Regions from separate parts of the Homo sapiens genome. Here regions 2, 3 and 4 are each linked to region 1. The links are contacts of gene promoters, found by promoter capture Hi-C in blood cells and fetal thymus (Javierre and others, 2016). All regions are on one chromosome and are shown on one strand. Each heading gives the region's core, a stretch centred on a gene start or on the middle of the fragment in contact. The rest is flanking DNA. Distances are from core to core; before and after follow the strand shown.

Region 1 (3,311 bases), core at 315-2,814:
TACTAGGATTTAGTGGAGAAATATATGCCCCTTCCTCAAAGCACCCTTGACTGCTATATAGTGAATTTTTTTTTTTTTCAAGTATGAAGGTAGTTTTAAATTTCTTCATCAGGCTGTCAGTGTTCACTGGCTAAGTTCGGACGTCTATCCAGGCTTTTTTCTAATATAATGCCATTAGTTACAGCCTGGGAAGCCAGGTAACTAAACTAATTAGAATTACAGGTAAATTAATAAGGACTTCCTGAGTAAGCACTAGAGGCCCTCCTATAAGAAATACCATACATTGTTTGCCGTCGATTTTGGCTGCTGAGGATGATTTAGCTTCCCACTGCCTTTTCTCTCTAGTACCCCAAGATGTTTTTTTCAATGAGCTAAGGCCGCTCTACAACTCTAAGTTAACTCCAGACAAGTCAGGTGTTGCCATCTACAGTGATTTCTAGCTGGATCTGACTCCGCCACTCATTACGTGTAAAAAGACACTGGGGAATGGAACGGTTGTCAAAATGCCCAGTTAACGACAACAAATATAAACTTTTCTTCGTATACCCTTCGCAGTAAAGTAGCAACAGCAATCGCAACCAAAATTTACTAAGCTCGCCTGCAGGATTCTCAGCCCTGTGTACAAACTCAAGTAGCTCAATATTTCTTGCTGGCTCTGGCACAGGAGCAGATCCAGACTAGATGGGTTCTAAAGTCATCCCAACAGGAAAACTAAGCTATGAACATTAAATCTTATCTCTGAAAGAGAGAATGAGGGTAGCACAGGAGTTAGAACCAACTTCTGTGCAAGCGAGCACTCCCCGACGCACCGGAAGTTTTGAAATATCCTGTGGGCTTCCCACAGGCAAAGTGGTTTTCCCTCCCCGCGGCTCTGCGGGCCCTCCCCAGGGTTCGAGGACCTCCGAGTTTGCTGCGCCCGGGGCCGGGGCCCTGGCCCTGCCACAGGCTGGGAGCGAGGCCGTCAATCACAGCCCGCGAATCACAGCCCGCGCCCCACGACTTCACCTTGGCGGCTCCCAAGCTGCGACTCGGGCAGGTGGGAGGTACCTGCGGCCCGGCTCCTGCCCCTGCCTGCTGCGACCGGGGGAGAGGCTGTCCCAGCTGGGGCCGGTGCAGGCCCCGGGGCCCCGTCTCGGGCCACGCGAGCCCTCGAGATGGTACCGCGTGGGGGCCGCGCGGCGGGGCCCTGCCCCGGGGCCCGGCAAACTCGGCTGCCCGCCCGGCCCGCCCCCCGGCGCCGCCACTCACCGAAGAATCCCTGCACGATTCCCAGCGGGTGGCTGAGCCAATCCTCCCCACACGGCATCTCGCCAGGGGCCGGGGCCGGCGAAGACCGGGCGGAGGCGATCCGCGGGCCGAGCGCGGCCGGGCGGCCGGCGCCCAGCTCCTCTTCAGCGGCTCGGCCGCTCCTCGCCCGCGTTCGCTCGCGCCCTCCCACGCACAGCGAGCCGCGGGGCGCGGGCCTCCCGCGCCTCAGGGAGCGGCGGCTGCGGTGGGGCCGCCGAGGAGCTGCTGGCGACAGTCAGGCGGGCGCGTACGGGCCCCTAGCCTTCACTTCGCACAATGGCGGGAAATAGCCGCCGCCGACCGCGCTGCCTGCGACCTGGGTGGAGCTCGCGTGGGGAGGGGCGGCGGGAGCGCGCGGCGCAGCGCGGCTCTGCGCGGCGAGGAGGAGGGGCGGCGGCGGCGCCGCCATCTTGGAGACGGGCAAAAGGAAGGGCACGCAGCGCCGCTGGAGGCTGCGCAGCGCGGGGCCCGGCGACGCGCTCCAAGGGCGGCGCGTTGTCGTTTGTACCCCTGGGCCGGCGTGTAGCGGGAACTCCCATAGTGGGCTTATAAGAGGGCAAAGCGAGTCTGCACAACAGCTGAAAAGCATTAAGCTCAGAGACCTCAGAGTCATCTCTGGGCAAAATTAGTGGGCGAAACCGCCTTGGGAATCCGCCCACCTCCTCTTCGTGCCTTTTTTTTCTTTTTTTGCTGATGGCAGCACTTTTATTTGGGTCCCCGGCCCGAAACCCTGAGTGGTGACTTTTCCCTCAGCTGCACAAGGTCTCCCTGAGGAAGGTGCACATTTAGAGAAGGGGAACCTCGGAGGACCCCACGCTCCTTCTGCAGTCGCGTCAGGCCCTGTGGCTCAGGGACGGTTCCTTACCGAGGGGCGGGCGCTCTAAACGCTCCGGGCCCGGCCTGCGCCCTGGTTGCGAACACCGGGTCGGCGTCTGTCTGGAAGCTGGCAGCCGCCGTCGGGGAGCGGTGCGAGGCTCCTGCACTGCGCGCCGCTAGGATACCCTGGAGAAGGAAGCTACGAAGACCGACTACAGCAGCCTTTTGCTGAGGCAATTTGGAAAATACCCAAGTTCAAGAGTGAAACTGTGGGAGTCGCTCTGAACCTCTTCTGGTTCAGGAGGCTGTCCGATAAAAAAGAAAAAAAGAATGAAACTGTGTCTCCCCTGGGCCTGAAATGTACCTAAGAAAACCCCAGGCCCATCAGATATATCTACTCAATGAAAAAAGGGCATGGTGACGGAAGGGGAATGACCTGAATGGAATCTACAAAGTGAGGAGCTGAAGGAAAAAAACGGAACCCGTGTCTCAAACCCTCCTTGGGGCTGTAGGAAGGGGGGAAAATCTTTCTACCTTTCTAGGTTCTCCACTGCGGCCCTTATCACAAAGCTCGGATTGGCAAAAGAAAAATTTAGTAACATGTACATCTTATATGGGCAAAACTCAAGGAAGAGTAACTCAAACAGGTGGCTTAGAATGGGGGAATTACGTAGCATTTACAATAAAGAACAATAACTGGGGAGAAATGGCGAAAGCAGTTTGAAGTTTCCAAAAACAGCAGAGTGGGAAGGCAGAGATACGAGAAACTAATGGTAGTTACAGGTAGTGAGTAAAGTGTGTTATGTAGGTTCTTCTAGCGCCATCGCTGGCTGATAAGGGTCTAAAGTTGTCTCTGGTGACTAACTTTTGTCCCTGGTAGAAAGAGGAGGTGGGACACCTTTGAAAATGTATGTCCTGCTCTTAGGTACATAGTGGAAGGGTAGGGAGCTTGTTTTGTACAGATGCTCCTCTACTTACTCTACTTAGGATGGAGTTACATCCCAATAAACCCATTGTAAATTGAAAATATCATTAGTTGAGGCCCAGCGTGGAGCCTCACTCCTGTAATCCCAATACTCTGGGAGGCCAAGGCGGGCGGATCATGAGGTCAAGAAATGGAGACCATCCTGGCCAACATGGTGAATCCCCATCTCTACTAAAAATACAAAAATTAGCTGGGCCTGGTGGCGCACGCCTGTAGTCCCAGC
Region 2 (3,311 bases), core at 435-2,934, 830 kb before region 1:
AAAAAAAATTAGCCATGCATGGTGGCATGTGCCTGTAGTCCCAGCTACTTGGGAAGCTGAGGCAGGAGAATTGCTTGAACCTGGGAGGCAGAGGTTGCAGTGAGCTGAGATCATACCACTGCACTCCAGCCTGGGAGACAGAGCAAGACTCCACCTCAAAAAGAAAAAAAATGGTAATAGACGCATGTCACAAACATGTATACAACTGCTCACGAATAATAAAGTGTGAAACAATAAGCAGGCCCAGGACTAAGAAAAAAAATGAGGCTGGGCGCAGCGCCTCACACCCGTTATCCCAGCACTTCACTTTGGGAGGGAGAGGCAGAAGGATAACTTGGGCCCAGGAGTTTGAGACCAGCCTGGGCAACATAGCGAAACCCCGTCTCTCCAAAAAATAAAATATTAGCAGGGTGTGGTGGCATGCGCCTGTAGTCCTAGCTACTCAGAAGGCTGAAGTGGGAGGCTCCCTAGGGTCCGGGAGGTCAAGGTTGCAGTGAGCCATGACTGCACCACTGCATTCCAGCCTGTGCAACAGAGCAAGACCCTGTCTCAAAAAAAGTAAAGTAAAATGAGTTCCTCCTTGCATAATCTCTCAGTTGGCAAAAATAAATATATAAAGTACATTTTGGTTTCAATTATTTATTTTTAAAAGGAGGCTGGTTCCCAGTAAAACCTGAAAAATACACCAATACTGAAAGCATGAGTACAGGAAGAGCCTTCAAAGAAGCAGTCATCGAAGCAGAAGGAAAACAAAGAGCACATCACTAAAGAAGAGAGGGGTTGGGTTATTTATGTTTTGGATGGTGGTATTCTGAAGGCAAACTTTTGACAGCGAAGTCACTGCAAATGATACTGAAGGAAAGATGAAAGACCAGTTTATCTGGAAAATAACAATACAGCCCTGATATTTATCCATCAGAATTTCACTTTTACAGGTGAACACTTAAGCATATTCTAGGAAATAGAATTTTACCTGGCTTGACTAATGGTCTCCAAGGACCAGGTCTTGAGTCATCACCCCGTCTGGGAAACCGATCATCATCAGCACGTCTTGAAAGGCGATCATCATCCATGTTTCTCCAAGGGCCCCTGTCATCCTCTGCACCACGCCTGGGAATTCTGTCATCATCGGCGTTCCTCCAAGGTCCTCGATCATCATCCAACCCTCGCCTGGGACCCCGGTCATCATCCATGCCTCGCCTGGGACCCCGGTCATCATCCATGCCTCGCCTGGGACCCCGGTCATCATCCATGCCTCGCCTGGGACCCCGATCATCATCCAACCCTCGCCTGGGACCCCGGTCATCATCAGCATTACGCCAGGATGATCGCTCATCATCAGCGCCTCCTCGCCTCGGCCCCCGGTCATCATCCATCCCACGTCTTGGTCCTCTGTCCTCATCAGCTGTTCGCCAGCTTCCTCTGTCCTCATCCAGTCCTCGTCTAGGTGGTCTGTCATCATCCGCATGACGCCAGTTTCCCCTGTCTTCATCGGCAATTCGTCTGGGAGGCCTGTCATCATCTGTGTTACGCCAGGAAGGCCGGTCATCGTCTGCCCCACGACGAGAGAACCTATCTTCCTCAGGACCACGTCTAGGGCCTCTGTCATCATCCATGCCACGCCGGGGAACCCGATCATCGTCTGGTCTAAGAGAGGGCTCTCTATCTTCATCATCCCCCAGACGCCGGGGCCGCTCTTCATCTCTTCTATGAGACCTGTCCTCATCTCGCCCTTCTCCACGTCTCCACTCCCTACACAGCAACAAGAACAATTAAAAATATATAAAATAAAAAAGCATATGATCCTTTGGGGATTTTTTTTTTCACATGCTTTTTAAAAACTTCAGTATGGGCCGGAGCAGTGGCTCGCACCTTTAATCCCAGCACTCTGGGAAGCAGAGGCAGGCAGATCACCTGAGGTCAGGAGTTCAAGACCAGCCTGGCCTGGCAAAACCCATCTCTACTTAATTGTAAGACATGCGGCTGGGCACAGTCGCTCACACCTGTAATCCCAGCACTTTGGAAGGCCAAGGCGGGAGGATTGCTTGAGCCCAGGAGTTTGAGACTAGCCTGGGCAACATGTCAAAACCCCATCACTATAAAGAATATAAAAATTCACCAGGCGTAGTGGCCCACACCTGTAATCCCAGCACTTTGGGAGGCCGAGGCAGGCAGATTTCTTGAGGTCAGGAGTTCAAGACCAGCCTGGCCAACATAGTGAAACCTCGGGTCTACTAAAAATGCAAAAATTAGCCAGGCGTGGTGGTGCATGTCTGTAATCCTACTTGGGAGGATTACAAGTGCCTCCCAGCTACTTGGGAGGCACAAGAATTGCTTCAACCCAGGAGGCGGAGGCTGCAGTGAGCCGAGAACGCGCCACTGCACTCCAGCCTGGGTGACAGAGCTAGATTCTGTCTCAAAAACAAAGAAACAAACAAACAAAATTAACCAGGCATGGTGGAGCGCACCTGTGGTCCCAGCTACTCAGGAGGCTGAGGCAGGAGGATCACCTAAGCCCAGGGAGGTTGAGGCTGTAGTGAGCCGAGATCGCGCCACTGCACTCCAGAGTGAGACGCCATCTCAAAACAACAACAACAACAACAAAAACAACAACACAGGCCAAGTGCAGTGGCTCATGCCTGTCATCCCAGCAATTTGAGAGGCTGAGACAGTCAGATCGCTTGAGGTCAAGAGGTCAAAGCCAGCTTGGGCAACATGGCAAAACCCCATCTCTACTAAAAATACAAAAAGTAGCCAGGTGTGGTGGCACACACCTGTAATCCCAGCTATTCGAGAGGCTGAGGCACTTGAACCCAGGAGGCAGAGGTTGCAGGGAGCCGAGATAGCGCCACTGCACCCCAGCCTGGGCAGCAGACCCAAAAAAACAAAATACAAACCCACACGCAATCAGACATGCACACAATTCTTCATGGCTCTCCTTTCCCTGCCTCTACAAAATGAACCAAATTTTAAAACCACTGATAAGATATTAACAGGAACTGGAGCGGCATTATTTTCCTCAACTCTACTTACTTCTCTGGCGGGCCTCTTCTCCACTCAGAATCTGCTTCAGGTCCTTTTCTCCAGGTGCCTTCTGAATCTCTATCTCCCCAACGAGAGTCCTCCATTGACAAAGTGAAAAAGAAGCATTACATTGGTAACCATTTACTATTACAACTACTGGTATTACCATTCAAATATTTTTTGTACTTATAACAATATGAAGCCCTTAAATAAGCAAGTTTTAAAATTTCATTTATTTTTTAATCTGAGATCAGACTGACGCTACAGGGAAACTGGTAGTCTCATAT
Region 3 (3,311 bases), core at 270-2,769, 770 kb before region 1:
GTCTCAATAGATAAATGAATAAATAAATAGAAAGAAAGAAAGAAAAAAGAATAATGCAACACAGCTCGAAACCTGGGCTTCTTAGGGCCGGAGAGCTACCCAGCATCCTGAAACCATTGAGAACACAAGGAGGATGACTTCATCTTGGGAATGTTCTGGAAGCCTCACATATGCTAGAAGTCAGGACGGAGTGTCAGAGCAGTTGACTGAATCGCCTTCCAGTTCCCAAGTGAGACTGAATCCCTTAAATTAAAAGAGCTTGGCCAGGCGTGGTGGATCACACCTGTAATCCCAGCACTTTGGGAGGCCAAGGCGGATGGATCACTTGAGGCCAAGAGTTTCAGACTAGCCTGGCCAACATGGTGAAACCCCATCTCTACTAAAAATAAAAAAAAATTAACCAGGCTTGGTGGCACACACCTGTAGTCCCAGCTACTTGGGAGGCTGAGGCAGGAGAATTGCTTGAGCCTGGGAGGCGGAGGTTGCAGTTAGTGGAGATCACACCACTGCACTCCAGCCTGGGTGACAGAGCAAGACTCCGTCTCAGAAAAAAAAAAAGGCTGGGCACAGTAGCTCACACCTGTAATCCCAGCACTTTGGGAGGCTGAGGTGGGTGGATCACCTGAGGTCAGGAGTTCGAGACCAGTCTGACCAATATGGTGAAACCCTGTCTCTACTAAAAATACAAAAATTAGCCGGGTGTGGTGGCCTGCGCCTGTAGTCCCAGCTACTCAGGAGGCTGAGACAGGAGAATTGCTTGAACCCAGGAGGCGGAAGTTGCAGTGAGCTGAGATTGCATCACTGCATTGCGACAGAGCAAGACTCCATCAAAACAAACAAACAAACAAAACAACAACAACAAAAAAAAACTGCCACCCTAATGGCTCCCTTGGCTGACACATGCCCAATCTATGATGGAATCCAATTACAGAAACAAAGATGAAAAAGAACCATATTTGACTCATAGGAACCTGGGATTGGAACACCTGGAAGATGCTGGGGTCCCTTGTGCACTTGTCCATGTGGCCAGACAGTTTAGGCACTTTCCAAATCTGCTTCAGTGCCAGTAACTTACTCTTTTTCTGCAGAGCAAGGAGTGAGCAGGCTGTGCAAAAAAGAATTCACACGACAGGCCTGAGGGTGATATCCATAGAAAGTCTGCTGGCCAGTTTGGCCCTTGGCTGTGCCTGGAAACTTGGACTTCGGCAGTGTTCCCAGCATTTCTAGAACTGATCAAACTGATCAGAGTGACAGACTATGCCTGAACTATTTGTACATACAATGTGGTTCATGAGAGTCTGGAAATCTGGTATGAGCTAGGCAGAGGGTACCTATGTGACTGGCCCCCAGTAAAAACTGAGTTACTTGGTGACTGAGTTCTAACAAGCTTCCCTGGTTGATAAATATCACAAGTATTGCCACAACTTGTTGCTGGAGGAATTAGGTGTGTCCTGTGTGACTCTACCAGGAAATAACTCTTGGGAACTTGGCCCTGGTTTCCTCCAGACATCACCCCATGTGCCTTTTCCCTTTGCTGATTTTGCTTTGTATTCTCTGGCTGTAATAAATCATAGCCCTGAGCTGGGGATGGTGGTTCACATGTGTAACCCCAGCACTTTGGAGCCTGAGGTGGGCAGATCGCTTGAGGTCAGAAGCTTGAGATCAGCCTACACAATATGGTGAGATCACATCTCAAAAAAAAAAAAAAAAAAATAGCTAGGCATGGTGGTGCCTGCCTGTAGTCCCAGCTACTCAGGAGGATGAGGTGGGAGGATAGCTTGAGCCTGGATCAAAGCTGCAGTGAGCCGTGATCGTGCCACTGCACTCCAGCCTGGGTGACAGAGTGAGACCCTGTCTCAAAAAAATAAAAATGTATATCATAGCCATGAGTATAGCTATATGCTGAATCCTGAGAATCCTTCCAACAAATCATTGAATTTGGGGGGTGGTCTTGGGGACCCTTTATATTCTTACCTATAAAATTAGGCTATTCTTATCAATAAAACTAGCATAAAGATTTTCCCTGATTCAAATCTTTATTGGGAGAGTCACGGAGGAAAGTATGGTTAGCTCCATTTGATCACTGAGAAAACATGCACAGAAAAGATAGGAAACATGTGTGAGGTTTCGCAGCTAAGATGGGCAAGGGGGTTGGAACTCAGGTTGTCTGTTTCCACACCCCAGCTCCATCTGTCTGTGACAGCGCAGAGGTCAGTCTTACTTTTAAAGATTGGGGATGCGTCGCCTCTGCTCTCTCCACCCTCTATTCCTTTTCCCTTCACTCTGGTGTACCTGTCTGGCAGGTAAGACAGCACTTGTGGAGAAACAGGAGGGAAGGAGGTGTCAATTCCAGGTATCATCCCACTCACTGGAGCCTGGACACACCCCTCATTATCTTTCCCCTCCCTGCACCCACTATCATCTCCCTCTCCTTTGTTTAATTATCTGTTCATCATCGTCTTCATCCTCATTTCTTTTCTTTTTTTTTCTGAGATGGAGTCTCACTCTGTCGCCCAGGCTGGAATGCAGTGGCGCGATCTTGGCTCACTGCAACCGTCCTCTCTTGGGTTCAAGCCAGTCTGCCTCAGCTTCCTGAGTAGCTGGGATTACAGGCACCTGCCACCATGCCTAGCTAATTTTTGTGATTTTTTGTTTGTTTGTTTTTGAGATGGAGTCTCGCTCTGTCGCCCAGGCTGGAGTGCAGTGGCGTGATCTCGGCTCACTGCAAGCTCCGCCTCCCGGGTTCACGCCATTCTCCTGCCTCAGCCTCACAAGTAGCTGGGACTACAGGCACCTGCCACCACGCCCGGCTAATTTTTTGTATTTTTAGTAGAGACAGGGTTTCACCGTTTTAGCCGGGTTGGTCTCAATCTCCTGACCTCGTGATCCACCCACCTCAGCCTCCCAAAGTGCTAGGATTACAGGCGTGAGCCACCGTGCCCCACCTAGTGCAAGTTTCTAGTTGGCTTCCAAACTGATTCCACATCTGTGTCCCACTCCTCAGCCTCTAAACACCTGCTTCTTTTCTGTGAAAACTAGACACATTAACAGTTATACTACAACAGGAAGCCCAGAGAATAGAAGGGCACGTAGTTCAGGGTGCTGCCTTCCAGGGGTTCAGTTTAGTGAGAGAAACAGGAATGCCATATACACACCTAAATATACTCCAATGTATAAATTGCAGCCTGGGCAACATAGCGAGAAACTGTCTCCAAAAAAAAAAGAAAGAAAAAAGAAAAAAACAGGCGCAGTGGCTCACGCCTGTAATCCCAGCTACGCAGGAGGCTGAGGCAGGAGAATCCCTTAAAACC
Region 4 (3,311 bases), core at 279-2,778, 690 kb before region 1:
GCGACAGAGCAGAGTGGAGTTCCCTTAGAATTTCACCTCACTCATCCTGGTTTCAGTTTTAAAGCTCAGATGCATTAGTTAGTGCCAGCTCATAGGCAGGGTTAGGCTTCAAGGTAACATTACTTGAGGGCCTCATAATTGGCTCTGAAAGCAATTCTTTTTTTTTTTTTTTTTTGAGACGGAGTTTTGCTCTTGTTGCCCAGGCTAAAGTGCAATGGTGCGATCTCGGCTCACTGCAACCTCTGCCTCCCAGGTTCAAGTGATTCTCCTACCTCAGCCTCCTGAGTAGCTGGGATTACAGGCATGCACCACCACGCCCAGCTAATTTTGTGTTTTTAGCGGAGATGGGGTTTTGCCATGTTGGTCAGGCTGGTCTCGAACTCCTGACCTCAGGTGATTGGCCCGCAGGTGATCGGCCCGCTTCGGCCTCCCAAAGTGCTGGGATTACAGGTGTGAGCCACCGTGCCTGGCTGCTTCAAGGTAACATTACTTTCCGTCTTCCATGTAGCCCCATTCACCTGCGGCTGCCTTCAGTTAGATTTCCTGCATGATTCCTGCCCATTTTAGCCTCTGAAGTAATCTGTTTCCTGTCCTATTAGGTACCAAATAGAGAGCCCTCTGGTATTGGATCAATTAACAATGTGATTTTTTTTTTTTAGAATCTTGCTGTGTTGCCCAGGCTGGAGTGCAGTGGTGCAATCTCGGCTCACTGCAACCTCTGCCTCCTGGGTTCAAGAGATTCTTCTGCCTCAGCCTCCTGAGTAGCTGGGATTACAGGTGCCCACAACCACAACTAGCTAATTTTTGTATTTTTAGTAGAGACCAGGTTTTGCCATGTTGGCCAGGCTGGTCTTGGACTCCGGACCTCAAGTGATCCTCTCGCCTCGGCCTCCCAAAGTGCTGGGATTACAGGCATGAGCCACCGTCCCTAGCCAACAATGTGATTTTAATCATTAATAAACATGTACTGGAGAGGATCACTTAGACCCTGCTGCCGAGGAACTGTGTGTGTATCCAAGGAATACTGATAAAATCATTAAAAAAAAAACCCAGTCCAAGATTCAGCATTTTAAGAGGCATGAAAGAGGCATAATGGTTGAGTGTGGACAGCTGAGATTGACACACCAGCTCTGCTAGCTGCAGGCACGTGGCCTTGGGCAAGTTACTTAGCACATTTTCCCATCTGTAAAATTGAAATGATGTTAGTGCTTACCCCAAGGGCTTTTGTGAGGAATAAATGAGTTCATATTTTAAAGGCATTAGCACAGTCAGCAGGCACATAGTGTTCGTTATATTAAATAAAAGAGAGGTGCAAGTGAAGTGCTATCATGGTTTAGAGAAAGGGGCCAAGAAGGGCTTCACAGAGAAATCATCTATCCTGCTGCTTGGGGAAGGTGAAGGGGAAGATGGCAGGTGGAAGTGACTAGTGACCTTTGTCCCTTTGGTTTACTGTTATCTTCAGTGACCACACTATGGGGCTACGCTCTGGGTTGAATGCAGTATCTCTATTCCGTCTGCACAACCCTATGACACAGGTGCTTTTTCGGTTTGTTTTTTGTTTTGTTTTGTTTTGTTTTGTTTTAGAGTCTTGCTCTGTCACTCAGGCTGAAGTGCAATGGCATGATCTCAGCTCACAGCAAACTCCACTCCTGGGTTCAAGTGATTCTCCTGCCTCAGCCTCCCAAGTAGCTGGGATTACAGGTGCACACCACCACACCTGGCTAATTTTTGTATTTTTAGTAGAGATGGGGTTTCATCATGTTGGCCAGGTTGGTCTCGAACTCCTGACCTCAAGTGATCCGCCTGCCTCGGCCTCCCCAGGTGTAGGGATTACAGGTGTGAGCCATCACACCCAGCCACAGGTACTGTTTTTAATTCATCATCCCCATTTCCAAGGTGAGGAGACTGATGCTTGGGAAGGTTTAGTAATTTGTCCAAAGTCCCACAACTGGAAAGGGAAGGAGCCAGGATTTAAACCTTGAAAGCTGACTGCAGAGCCCCCATTCCTTTTCATTTTTATTGTTTTTTGTTTGTTTGTTTGTTTTTGAGACAGGGTCTCTCTCTGTCATCCAGGCTGGAGTGCAATGGCACAACCATGGCTCACTGCAGCCTCAACCTCCTGGGCTCAAACAATCCTCCCACCTCAGCCTCCCAAGGAGCTGGGACCACAAGTGTGTATCACCAAGCCCAGCTAATTTTGTTAGTTTTTGTAGAGAAGGGTCTTCCTATGTTGTCTAGGTTGGTCTCAAACTCCTGGGCTCAAGCAGTCCTCCTGCCTTGGCCTCCCAAAATGTTGGGATTACCGGTGTGAGGCCAGAGCCCCAACTCTTTTTTTTTTTTTTTTTTTGAGATGGAGTCTCGCCCTGTCGCCCAGGCTGGAGTGCGGTGGCGCAATCTCAGCTCACTGCAAGCTCCGCCTCCCGGGTTCACGCCATTCTCCTGCCTCAGCCTCCCGAGTAGCTGGGACTACAGGCGCCCGCCACCACACCTGGCTAATTTTTTTGTATTTTTAGTAGAGATGGGGTTTCACCGTGTTAGCCAGGATGGTCTCCATCTCCTGACCTCGTGATCCACTCACCTTGGACTCCCAAAGTGCTGGTATTACAGGCGTGAGCCACCGTGCCTGGCCAAGTGCCCCAACTCTTAAAGCAATATTGTATGACCTCCTACAGTATTTGTTGGAGCATAATGTGCTTGATGGGACATAATAGGAGATGGTACTATAAATGTGGGCTGTGTGAGGACATGAAGGAGCACTGACCATCTGTCCTTTAGTGAAATATCTCAAGTACTCCACTCCCAGGCACCAGGCCTCACTGTGGATTCTGTCCATTGATGCGGTACGCTGTGCTCTTTTGCCTAAGCATTTCTAATAGGTTCCGCCCCTGCAATTGATGTTCACCACCTTGGGGCCCACTCTACTCTCAGCCTTCTTTTTTTTTTTCTGACGGAGTCTCACTCTGTCACCCAGGCTGGAGTGCAGTGGTACCATCTCGGCTCACTGCAACTTCTGTCTCCCAGGTTCAAGCAATTCTCCTGCTTCAGCCTCCTGCGTAGCTGGGATAACAGTGCCCGCCACCACGCCTGGCAAATTTTTTTGTATTTTTAGTAAAGACAGGGTTTTCAATGTGTTTCAGCACATGGCCAGGCTGGTCTTGAACTCTTGACTTCAAATGATCTGCCCGCCTTGGCCTCCCAAAGTGCTGGGATTACAGGTATGAGCCACTGTGTTCGGGCGACTCTCAGCCTTCCTTTCCTTCTCTGGGGTCTGTCTGTTCCTGTCTTCCTGCCAAGCTTGTGAAAGGAAGGCA

Evidence for each region. The method cuts DNA at HindIII sites, captures the fragments that hold promoters and counts their contacts. A CHiCAGO score of 5 or more calls a contact.
Region 2: a fragment that was not itself captured here is called in contact with the fragment with the promoter of MCMBP in region 1 in 1 of 17 cell types (naive CD8 T cells); the score reaches 5.6 in naive CD8 T cells.
Region 3: a fragment that was not itself captured here is called in contact with the fragment with the promoter of MCMBP in region 1 in 1 of 17 cell types (fetal thymus); the score reaches 5.8 in fetal thymus.
Region 4: a contact is called between a fragment that was not itself captured here and the fragment with the promoter of MCMBP in region 1, in 1 of 17 cell types (naive CD4 T cells). The highest score is 5.5, in naive CD4 T cells.

Annotation. Positions count from the first base shown.
Region 1 is chr10:119,871,279-119,874,589 of GRCh38, forward strand. It overlaps MCMBP (minichromosome maintenance complex binding protein), which reads right to left and starts at 1,565. Exons shown (of 16, transcript NM_001256378.2): 1 at 1,249-1,565. The coding sequence starts at 1,306. RefSeq lists a silencer at 1,020-1,669 and enhancers at 1,900-2,059, 1,925-2,094. The HindIII fragment of the contact is 9,733 bases long and covers 1-3,311 here.
Region 2 is chr10:119,041,021-119,044,331 of GRCh38, forward strand. It overlaps EIF3A (eukaryotic translation initiation factor 3 subunit A), which reads right to left. Exons shown (of 22, transcript NM_003750.4): 18 at 3,034-3,122; 19 at 974-1,752. Among named protein-coding and RNA genes, the nearest start is that of NANOS1, 13 kb to the left of the region's middle. The HindIII fragment of the contact is 5,604 bases long and covers 1-3,311 here.
Region 3 is chr10:119,099,439-119,102,749 of GRCh38, forward strand. No RefSeq gene overlaps it. Among named protein-coding and RNA genes, the nearest start is that of DENND10, 3.0 kb to the right of the region's middle. The HindIII fragment of the contact is 268 bases long and covers 1,386-1,653 here.
Region 4 is chr10:119,184,235-119,187,545 of GRCh38, forward strand. No RefSeq gene overlaps it. Among named protein-coding and RNA genes, the nearest start is that of PRDX3, 7.1 kb to the left of the region's middle. The HindIII fragment of the contact is 3,528 bases long and covers 1-3,292 here.